2 separate regions of the Homo sapiens genome follow, and region 1 is linked to region 2. The links are contacts of gene promoters, found by promoter capture Hi-C in blood cells and fetal thymus (Javierre and others, 2016). All regions are on one chromosome and are shown on one strand. The core of a region is centred on a gene start or on the middle of the fragment in contact, and the rest is flanking DNA. Distances in the headings are between cores, read along the strand shown. Region 1 holds the start of TSPAN31 (tetraspanin 31). Region 2 holds the start of INHBE (inhibin subunit beta E).

What was found. Contacts are between HindIII fragments. The CHiCAGO score rates a contact against its expected background, and 5 or more counts as called.
Region 1: a contact is called between a fragment that was not itself captured here and the fragment with the promoter of INHBE in region 2, in 5 of 17 cell types (naive CD8 T cells, naive B cells, total CD4 T cells and 2 more). The highest score is 7.6, in naive CD8 T cells.

What each region holds. Positions count from the first base shown.
Region 1 is chr12:57,743,421-57,749,313 of GRCh38, forward strand. It overlaps TSPAN31 (tetraspanin 31), which reads left to right and starts at 1,619. Exons shown (of 6, transcript NM_005981.5): 1 at 1,619-1,797; 2 at 2,325-2,492; 3 at 2,756-2,836; 4 at 3,169-3,300; 5 at 3,598-3,711; 6 at 3,796-5,893. The coding sequence starts at 1,735. The coding sequence ends at 3,870. It overlaps CDK4 (cyclin dependent kinase 4), which reads right to left. Exons shown (of 8, transcript NM_000075.4): 7 at 5,762-5,893; 8 at 4,307-5,197. The coding sequence ends at 5,105. It overlaps MIR6759 (microRNA 6759), which reads right to left and starts at 5,262; the gene lies at 5,198-5,262. RefSeq lists an enhancer at 2,350-2,429. The HindIII fragment of the contact is 195 bases long and covers 3,909-4,103 here.
Region 2 is chr12:57,452,093-57,457,426 of GRCh38, forward strand. It overlaps INHBE (inhibin subunit beta E), which reads left to right and starts at 3,215. Exons shown (of 2, transcript NM_031479.5): 1 at 3,215-3,742; 2 at 4,002-5,334. The coding sequence starts at 3,445. The coding sequence ends at 4,756. RefSeq lists an enhancer at 2,894-3,188. The HindIII fragment of the contact is 16,061 bases long and covers 1,171-5,334 here.

The DNA of each region.
Region 1 (5,893 bases), core at 2,756-5,255, 290 kb after region 2:
GGCAGATCACCTAAGGTCAGGAGTTCGCCACCAGCCTGGCCAACATGGCAAAACCCCATCTCTACTAAAAATACAAAAAAATTAGCTGGGTGTGGTGGCGGGCACCTGTAATCCAGCTACTCGGGAGGCTGAGCCAGGCAGGAGAATTGTTTGAACCCGGGAGGTGAAGGTTGCAGTGAACTGAGATCGCGCCACTACACTCCAGCCTGGGCGACAGAGGGAGACTCTGTCTCAAAATAATAATAATGATAATAACTTAATTACCTTGTTTCAAGACCCAAACACCTCTCTCGCCCTGTCAAACATCTATTCTCCTGCATACCTTTTTGGTATTAATTTCTGTAAGAGTTTATATAAATACTGTGTAGTTAAAGATAAGGGAATTGAGGTTGGAATTGCCCACAGGAACCTGTAAAATGACCTGAAAAGTAATAACTAACATTGAGTGTTTACTATATGCCAGGTACTGTTCTAAGTATTCTACATATATTAACTCATTTAATTCTTACAACCCAAGAGGTAGGGTGTGTTGTTATTTATCCCCATTTTACAGATGAGGAAACACGCACAGACAGTTTCTAAGTGCCTGGCCAAAGGTTACGCAGCTAGGAAGTGGCAATCTGACTGTGGCAGTAAGTCTATAGAATCTAAGTACACACAAACTTAAATCATTCTGTTGAGTTGATTGGAGGGTTTTCTTTTTTGTTCCTACTGTTTCTTTCTCCTGGGGAAGAGAAGGATTATGCCTTTCCCTACCCCCGTGAGAAGGACGGTTTGTCAAAGCACTTACTAGATAATAAAGTTGTTGATCAGCCTACCCCCAAGTGAAAAGGTGGAGGCTCCTTCCACTTATATTTATGTAAATGAGACTCTTCCTCTTGCCTGCCGTTTTTTTGCAAGCCCTAGATCAGGCGTGTACTCTGAAAATGCTGAGCACACCCCTCTGTGCACTTGTGGCAATGCCACATACAGGAATGCGCTGGCCTGAGGCCGCTATTTCCACACTGAATTTCTGGTATATTCACACCCCTTTAGGAGGAGATATGGAACAGGACATGGGTACTAGAGGACACACAAACGTGTGATGATTTGCTGGGTGTTGCTGTGTCCAACCCGCGGACTCTGCGGCCGGGCTAAATAAGCTCAATATGTGGCTCCTTTGGGTGTTCCCGAGCGTGACGCAATAACAAAACAATGGCGTCATCGTGAGGTCACTGCAGAACAGGGGGAAGGGGGTGGGGAAGGGCCCTCCTTCTACGGGCGGAGCCCTTTTTGCCCAGCTCTCAGAGCGGCCCCCTACCCGCCCCTCCCGCCGTCTCCCCTTCACCTAAGTTCCTCCAGAGCCGTCTCCCTGGGAATTAGCCCTCTCCTAACTCCGACCACAGAAAGCTCAGCTTTCAACCTAAGCTTTTGGAGTTTAGGCTGTAGTCCCTAAGAGAGTCTCTAGAAACCCTGCCCCTAGTTTTAAGTTTCGCCCAATGAAAAAACAAAAGGAGAGGGACAGAAGGCGGGTCGGTGACGTAATGCGGGTTGATTGGCATGCAGGCCTTGGACGTCCAGGATTAGCCACGCATTTCGCCAATCCAGAGGCAGGGGAGGGACGGTGCAGGCGCAGAGTATTGGGTTTGGCTGGCCTCGATTTAAAGAGACAGAAGCTGTCGGGGTCCTGGAAGACGGTCCCCAATACCCTCCCCCCAAGTCCTTGGGACCACTTGGGTCCCCAGAGCTGGGGAGATGGTTTGTGGCGGCTTTGCCTGCTCCAAGAATGCGCTTTGCGCTCTCAACGTGGTCTACATGGTGAGGTTTTGGAGGTGGGGGAAGCTTCAAGGCGGAAAGGCCCCGTGGGGAGAATCTCTAGGGTACTTCCGGTGGGGAGAGGGGTGTATGGGGGTTCCGGGAAGATTCCCAGGAACTTCCGGCGACGAGGGAATTCCTGGGGACTTCCGTGGGAGAGAGGAGACTTCCGGTTGATTAAGGGGGTTTGTCTGAGGGTGGGGGAATGAACTGAAGGCCGTGGGCGTAAGTTCCATACCTCCTTCCTGTGAACCTCAGTTTCTTCCAAACTGGAAGTGATAGGATGATCCTGAGGGTTCATCTTTTGCATTCATACTACCATCCCTGCCACCCCCTCCCCGCCATCCTAGCCATTCTAACCTTTGGGAGTGCCTAGGGATGCTCCCGGTGCGGATAGCACCATCCCCAGCTCCCATTCACACACTATTCCATTATTCCTTCCCCCTGCCCCGCTCCCAAGTCCTCTTGTATGGCCTTGGGCTGTGCCGCATGCTAGAATTGTTGAGATGTATCCTGCTCTTTCTTCGTAGCTGGTGAGCTTGTTGCTCATTGGAGTGGCTGCTTGGGGCAAGGGCCTGGGTCTGGTGTCCAGCATCCACATCATCGGCGGAGTCATTGCTGTGGGAGTCTTCCTTCTCCTTATTGCAGTGGCTGGACTGGTGGGTGCTGTCAACCACCACCAAGTCCTGCTGTTCTTTGTATCCTGACCTGAAGTGATGGGGGCAACCGGGGGCTTGGGAGGGCTGTCATCTAAGGAAGATGTTAGAAGGGTAGGGGACCTCAGGGATCTTGGACACGTCTCCTTGCCCTGCCCTGTCCCATAATCTACGAAACAAGAGCTGATTTTATTGCTTTCAATTTGACATGGTGGTGTAAGTTCTATGAACAGATGAGACCAGACAGTTATTATAGATGAAACATAAAGGAATCTAGGACTTTTTTCCATAACCTTTCCTCTCAGTACATGATCATCCTTGGTTTGGTCTTCATCTTCCAATTTGTAATCTCTTGCTCATGTCTGGCTATTAACCGAAGCAAACAGGTAAGACAGTACCCTTTCAAGTACTTACTTGCTTTTTAAAATTTTCCTCTTAACCTCGAACTCCTTCCTTAGTCTGGCCCCAACTACCCAAAGATCATCCTTAGGTGCACTGCTTCTGGCCTCTTGGGCTATTTGCTTCCTCTGGGATGTCTGGTTAATTTTCCATGAGGATGATCTAGAGAACCTCAAAAGGTAGATATTTATCGTGTCTATAATTGTTGCACACCGTTATGCTTCTGTTTGACTTCCTTTGCTGGGCTAGGGAAATTGAGGCACTTGAACTGATAACAGGATGTAGGGAGACTTAATTTCCCTCTACCCATATCTTTCAGACAGATGTCATCAATGCTTCTTGGTGGGTCATGAGCAACAAGACTCGGGATGAACTGGAAAGAAGTTTTGATTGTTGTGGCTTATTCAACCTCACAACCCTGTATCAACAAGATTATGATTTCTGCACTGCAGTGAGTGTGTTGGGGGTGGTGCAGCAGCCAGGGGAGGTAGGAAACTGGGTAAGGACAATGCCCAAGTTGGCAAATTTAGTTTGAATGTCATTGTTTCTCTCTCTACAAGCCCTCTTGTATTGGGGCTGTGTTGGTGGGAGGTGGGGGTGGATAGAGGCTGGGGAATTAGCCAAGTAGGATTTTAGTTTGTAGGACACTGGTCAGATAACAGTAAAGTTTCTAGGGACATTCGGCATAGGTATTAGTCACTAGCAACTTTACATTCACAACTTTGCATTCTTCACGTTTTATCCTCAGATCTGCAAGAGCCAGAGCCCCACATGCCAGATGTGTGGAGAAAAGTTTCTTAAGCATTCAGACGAAGCCCTGAAAATCCTAGGGGGTGTTGGACTCTTCTTTAGCTTTACAGAGGTAACATTCTCCAGTTCCCTCACACACATCCTTTTTGAGACTGAGAATTAATTGATACTTATCTCTCTCCCTTTGTTCCTACAGATCCTTGGTGTTTGGCTAGCAATGAGATTTCGGAATCAGAAGGATCCTAGAGCCAACCCCAGTGCCTTTCTATGAGACTTTGGATCCTTCTGACTTTTCTTCTGCTCTCTCTAAGCTTTCTCTTCCTCCCTTAGGGAATATCTAGGGTCTGTAACCGTTTTGGTTTGAGAAAAAGGAAAGGCCCCTTGTCACATCCTCTAAAATTGATGGAATAGCAAGACTTTATGCCTTGACATATTTTAGTGGGAGCCAGACTATAAGGAATAAAAGGAAAAACTTTCTTCCTCTCTCTCCAAGAGGATATGGGAAGCTTCTGTGAGTGCATAGGATGGGGGCTGGAGTCATTCTTAGCTGTTTCCCTTCCTCTGTCCATATACTGGATCACCTCAACATACCCTGGTGTGGCTCTAAGGGTAAATCAGGGATAGGGCCAAGGAGAAAACAACCAAGAACTCTTTCCTGTAATAAGCAGGATCCAGTTTGAGAAAGTTTAGCGAATATAAAAGTAAAAGCCATTTAAAAATCTATATTCTTTTTTTTTTTTTGACACAGAGTCTTGCTCTGTTGCCCAGGCTGGAGTGCAATGGCATGATCTCGGCTCACCGCAACCTCTGCCTCCCGGGTTCAAGCGATCCTCCTGCCTCAGTCTCCCAAGTAGCTGGGATTACAGGTGTGCACCACCACGCCTGACTAATTTTGTATTTTTAGTAGAGACAGGGTTTCACCATGTTAGTCAGGCTGGTCTCGAACTCCTGACCTCAGGTGATCCACCCGCGTTGGCCTCCCAACGTGCTGGGATTATAGGCGTGAGCCACCACGCCCCGCCTAAAATCCATATTCAAAGAAGCAATTTCAGTTCCTTTCTAAGCTTTGTCAGTCAAGGGGCTCCACTGACTTCCTAGGCCCTGTAATTTAACCAGTCTTTAAGGTTTTGCAGGAAAGTCCCTTCTTCCAAGTGGTTTTTCCAAATCGCACAATGGCAAAGCCAAACAGAGGAAGAAACATTAAAAAAAAAAAAAAGACCATTATTTCTTTGTTTTGTTTTTCCTGTATAAAAAAGGACCCCAAATATAAAGGTAGGGAAAGGGACAAGAGGGAACATACCCCTTAGTGTAGAGAAATGGGAAGGAGAAGGAGAAGCCTCAAAAGGAGAGGTGGGAGGGGAATGTCATTAAGGCAGCAAAGTAATCTCTGTAGAAAGATGGAGGAGGACCCTCCATAGCCTCAGAGATAAAGGCAAAGATTGCCCTCTCAGTGTCCAGAAGGGAAATGGCAGCTTTTCTTCCTTCCATGGCAGCCACTCCATTGCTCACTCCGGATTACCTTCATCCTTATGTAGATAAGAGTGCTGCAGAGCTCGAAAGGCAGAGATTCGCTTGTGTGGGTTAAAAGTCAGCATTTCCTGAGGGGAGAGGCAAAGGTCAGAAAACCATGAAGAAAACAGACTTCTGCCCACCCACAACAATACCTGGGATGAGCTTTCTTCTTTTTTCTTTTTTTTTTTTTTTGAGACGGAGTCTCGCTCTATCACCCAGGCTGGAGTGCAATGGTATGATCTCAGCTCACTGCAACCTCCGCCTCCTGAGTTGAAGTGATTCTCCTATCTCAGCCTCCCAAGTAGCTGAGATTACAGGCGTGTGCCACCACCCCCGGCTTATTTTTGTACTTTTAGTAGAGACGAGGTTTCACCATGTTGGCCAGGCTGGTCTCGAACTCCTGACCTCAGGTGATACGCCCACCTTGGCCTCCCAAAGTGCTGGGATTACAGGCGTGAGCCACCGTGCCCAGCCAGGATGGGTTCTCTTCTATATCCTTCTCTGTGGGTGGCTATTTGCAGCTGTAATAAAAACTACAGCCCATCTACCAACCAAGTTTCATTAACCACAGTGGCCAGGGCCCTGCATACTGCTCTATTTCTTTCCCCAGTCTCTATTTCTTTCCCTGTGCCCACAGCCATCTCCAGTACCAGCAGCAGCTGTGCTCCCGACTCCTCCATCTCAGGTACCACCGACTGCACTGGGCGGGGCCCTCTGGGGGGAAAGGCTCCACGGGGCAGGGATACATCTCGAGGCCAGTCATCCTCTGGAGGCAGCCCAAT
Region 2 (5,334 bases), core at 1,965-4,464:
AATAAGGGGAGAGAGTGGGTCTGTCTTCTTCTAAACATTTTCTTCTAGAGCTTCCTAGCTCCTACCTCTGGACCCCTTCAGGCTTTTCTCATTTGAGCAAGATAACCACTCCCACTTCTTCTACTTCCTTACCCACCCCCAAGCCTGTCGCTATCCCCCAGCCCCCAACCAGGTTGGTGGTAGGGCAGGCAGTGAGGCAGATGGCTGGGGTATTTATAACCCAGGAGCACTTCTTGGGAAAAGTGACTAAGATGCTAAGAGCGTATTTATAGCTGAGCTCTGACGTAAGTGTCAGTGGGGAGGTAGGGCCAGGCCAGGCACAGCAGCAAGCGGGTGGGAAGAGCTGGAAACTGGGGGCATCTGACAGTGAGGGTGGGGAGAGGTGGGGTCAGTGACTCCTGCAGCCACTTCTTGTCACTTCCCCTGACTGCCTACTGATACCAACAGGTAAGCCGTCTGAGGCACCACCATGGATAGATACCTCCACTTTGCTGACCAATGTTCCAGACCCGAGGGGGTAGAGGGCTGTCATTTCCCAGCCCAACCAACAGAATGGTTGCTGGGAGCTGGGGAGAACACTGGACAGAGCTCTTGAATGTGTTTCAGAGCTTGGGGAGAAATGCAGGGTGGACAGGAGGGTCTAATCGTCTCAGTGCGCCCCCACCCCACTCCACCCCCACCAAAGAGTGCCCTGAGGTTCTAGGAAGAGCCTGGTACATCACCAAGCTCCATTGCCACGTGTTTGTGTGATGAGGTCCAAAACCAAAGGTAGCAGTGATGTGGATCCTGAAGACAGTCTCTCTTCTCTGGCAGTGTGATGGGGAAAGAACAAAGGAACCAGCTTGTCCCTGTCTCTTGTGGGGGAGGCAGCGTCCCCAGAGTGAGAGGTCGAGGGGCACTCCTCATCACTCCATTCCCCAGAGCTGCCCCTTCCCTGTCCCTGGGAAGCTCCAGCCAGCTACAAGCCAGCTGCTGTCCAGAGGCACGGCACTGCCACATGGTGGACACTGGTGGTACTGAGGTCCAGCCTTCCAATTAGGAACCCTGTCGCCTAGATCTAATAGTCTCTCTTGACAGCCCCCATCATCTAAACAGAGGGGAGATGAGCAAAGTGGAGTAAAGACACATTTCCAAATCACACCCACTTCCCCCACAGCTTTCTCCCCATCAAGCTTCTTGGAGAAATTGGGGCATAAGGAGAAAAGCTAGCATGAGGCCCACCTTCATGAATTCAATGTGGAGGGGTCTGGGTCCCCCCCCATTTAAAGCCAGTGAGGACTGGGTGTGGTGGCTCATGTCTATAATCCTAGCGCCTTGGGACGCTGAGGTGAGAGGATCGCTTGAGCCCAGGAGCTTGAGACCACCCTGGGCAACACAGCAAGACCCTGTCTCTACAAAAGAATAAAAAATAAATTAGCCTGTGTGGTGTGGTGTGGTGTGGTTGGTGTGGTGGCACGCACCTGTAGACTTAGCTACTCTGGAAGCTGAGGTGGAAGAATCACTTAACCCAGGAGGTCAAGGCTGCAGTGAGCTGTGATCAGGCCACCACACTCCAGCCTGGATGACAGAGTAAGACCCTGTCTCAAAAACATAAAAAATAAAATAAAAAATAGGTCAGGTGCGGTGGCTCATGCCTGTAATCCCAGCACTTTGGGAGGCCGAGGCGGGCAGATCATGAGGTCGGGAGATGGAGACCATCCTGGCTAACACAGTGAAACCCCGTCTCTACTAAAAATGCAAAAAACTAGCCGGGCGTGGTGGCTGGCACCTGTAGTCCCAGCGACTCGGGAGGCTGAGGCAGAAGAATGGTGTGAACCCGGGAGGTGGAGCTTGCAGTGAGCCGAGATTGTGCCACTGCACTCCAGCCTGGGCGACAGAGCGAGACTCAGCCTCAAAAAATAAAATAAAATAAAATAAAATAAAGACAGTGAGAAAATGTGGTCAGGAGGGCTGAGACTGGGAACCAAGACTGCTGTATTTGCCTTGCTTTGTTGTCAAAAGCTCTTAGAGCTCCCATTTTCTACCCCCATTAACAGGCCTGAAGGGTGGTGCGGTGGCTCACGCCTGTAACCTCAGCACTTTAGGAGGCTGAGGCAAGTGGATTGCTTGAGCCCAGGAGTTCAAGACCAGCCTGGGCAACATAGCGAGACCCTGTCTCTGTGGGAAATTTAAAAATTAGCCAGGTGTGGTGGTGCGCACCTGTAGTCCCAACTACTAAGGAGGCTGAGGCAGAAGGATTGTCTGAGCCCAGGAATTCAAGGCTGCAGTGAGCTATGATTGTGCCACTACACTCCAGCCTGAACAACAGATTGAGACCTTACCTCAGTAAAATAAAATAAAATTTAAATTTTAAAAATGTAAGAAAAAAAGGAGGCCTGGCACTACTTCTAGGATGCCCCAAATTTAGGCAACTCTCACAGTCCCTTGAAAGAGAAGTGGCAGCTGGGTATAGGCCCTCCCAAGTGTCATGCCCCCTGACAGTCCTGATGGACTCTGCCCTGTGTAAGATTGCATCACCACCACCACCACCTCTCTGGGCTTCCCCAGACATCACAGGAACACGTTCCCCGCCCCAACCCCCGCCGGCTCTGGCCCTCCTCCACATCATGCTCCACATCATGCTCCAGGCCAACTGGACTCTGGGCGGCCAGCACAGGCAGGGTCAGGGGGTGACTTCTGTGCCTCGTGGCACTGCCACCTGGGCCTGAGCAAGAGGGCTCCATTCTCCTACCCGCCCAAACCCTCATCCCTGTCCTAGCCCCAGTGCTAGAAATAAAGAGACCAGAATTTTCCTTCTGGCCTAAGGGCCCCAGAGGAATACCCACTGGAACTCACAGCTGCCTCATGGAAACTGCTGCAGCAGTGGTGAAGCTAGAAAGACTAGAGGTATGAGGGAAAATTGCCCTTCCCCACCTGGCTCATAAGGCGTTCCCTCCCCCAAGTCCCAGACCTTGGGGACTGAGCATGTGAAATCATCCTCTTTCTTGCATCATGCGTGTCCACATTGCACCCCCCCACCCCCATACCCCTACTTCAGGCCCAGTCACCATGGCCAGATGGTGAAACCTGAGCTGATGGGGAGGAGGACCTCCACCCCCTGCAGGGGCCTGATGGGCAGCACAGCTGGCCAATCCTGGGACTCAGAGGGTAGGTCGGCTGGCTGACCACTAGGTTTGGAAGACCCAGGCAGCTGGCTCTAAAGAGGCCCCAGGTCAGTAGCCAGACATGAGCTGTGAGGGTCAAGCACAGCTATCCATCAGATGATCTACTTTCAGCCTTCCTGAGTCCCAGACAATAGAAGACAGGTGGCTGTACCCTTGGCCAAGGGTAGGTGTGGCAGTGGTGTCTGCTGTCACTGTGCCCTCATTGGCCCCCAGCAATCAGACTCAACAGACGGAGCAACTGCCATCCGAGGCTCCTGAACCAGGGCCATTCACCAGGAGCATGCGGCTCCCTGATGTCCAGCTCTGGCTGGTGCTGCTGTGGGCACTGGTGCGAGCACAGGGGACAGGGTCTGTGTGTCCCTCCTGTGGGGGCTCCAAACTGGCACCCCAAGCAGAACGAGCTCTGGTGCTGGAGCTAGCCAAGCAGCAAATCCTGGATGGGTTGCACCTGACCAGTCGTCCCAGAATAACTCATCCTCCACCCCAGGCAGCGCTGACCAGAGCCCTCCGGAGACTACAGCCAGGGAGTGTGGCTCCAGGGAATGGGGAGGAGGTCATCAGCTTTGCTACTGTCACAGGTGGGTGAGGGAGAGAGCAACAGGCAAAGAGCAGACAGGGAAAGGGAGGCAGAAGGGGAGCCTGGCAGGAGCAGCAGAGGGAGTGGGGTGTGGCAGGAGAAGGAGGAGCTGGGGCAGGGACTGGTTGCAGAGGACACAAAGCAGTCTCTACTTTTCTAGAGGTAGGTTCGAGGGAGAGCAGTGGGCAGGGCTTGGGGAGTCTCAGAGGAGAGCTTCATCTCTACTCACATTTTCTTTCCCTTTTCTGTCTTTCGGGCAGACTCCACTTCAGCCTACAGCTCCCTGCTCACTTTTCACCTGTCCACTCCTCGGTCCCACCACCTGTACCATGCCCGCCTGTGGCTGCACGTGCTCCCCACCCTTCCTGGCACTCTTTGCTTGAGGATCTTCCGATGGGGACCAAGGAGGAGGCGCCAAGGGTCCCGCACTCTCCTGGCTGAGCACCACATCACCAACCTGGGCTGGCATACCTTAACTCTGCCCTCTAGTGGCTTGAGGGGTGAGAAGTCTGGTGTCCTGAAACTGCAACTAGACTGCAGACCCCTAGAAGGCAACAGCACAGTTACTGGACAACCGAGGCGGCTCTTGGACACAGCAGGACACCAGCAGCCCTTCCTAGAGCTTAAGATCCGAGCCAATGAGCCTGGAGCAGGCCGGGCCAGGAGGAGGACCCCCACCTGTGAGCCTGCGACCCCCTTATGTTGCAGGCGAGACCATTACGTAGACTTCCAGGAACTGGGATGGCGGGACTGGATACTGCAGCCCGAGGGGTACCAGCTGAATTACTGCAGTGGGCAGTGCCCTCCCCACCTGGCTGGCAGCCCAGGCATTGCTGCCTCTTTCCATTCTGCCGTCTTCAGCCTCCTCAAAGCCAACAATCCTTGGCCTGCCAGTACCTCCTGTTGTGTCCCTACTGCCCGAAGGCCCCTCTCTCTCCTCTACCTGGATCATAATGGCAATGTGGTCAAGACGGATGTGCCAGATATGGTGGTGGAGGCCTGTGGCTGCAGCTAGCAAGAGGACCTGGGGCTTTGGAGTGAAGAGACCAAGATGAAGTTTCCCAGGCACAGGGCATCTGTGACTGGAGGCATCAGATTCCTGATCCACACCCCAACCCAACAACCACCTGGCAATATGACTCACTTGACCCCTATGGGACCCAAATGGGCACTTTCTTGTCTGAGACTCTGGCTTATTCCAGGTTGGCTGATGTGTTGGGAGATGGGTAAAGCGTTTCTTCTAAAGGGGTCTACCCAGAAAGCATGATTTCCTGCCCTAAGTCCTGTGAGAAGATGTCAGGGACTAGGGAGGGAGGGAGGGAAGGCAGAGAAAAATTACTTAGCCTCTCCCAAGATGAGAAAGTCCTCAAGTGAGGGGAGGAGGAAGCAGATAGATGGTCCAGCAGGCTTGAAGCAGGGTAAGCAGGCTGGCCCAGGGTAAGGGCTGTTGAGGTACCTTAAGGGAAGGTCAAGAGGGAGATGGGCAAGGCGCTGAGGGAGGATGCTTAGGGGACCCCCAGAAACAGGAGTCAGGAAAATGAGGCACTAAGCCTAAGAAGTTCCCTGGTTTTTCCCAGGGGACAGGACCCACTG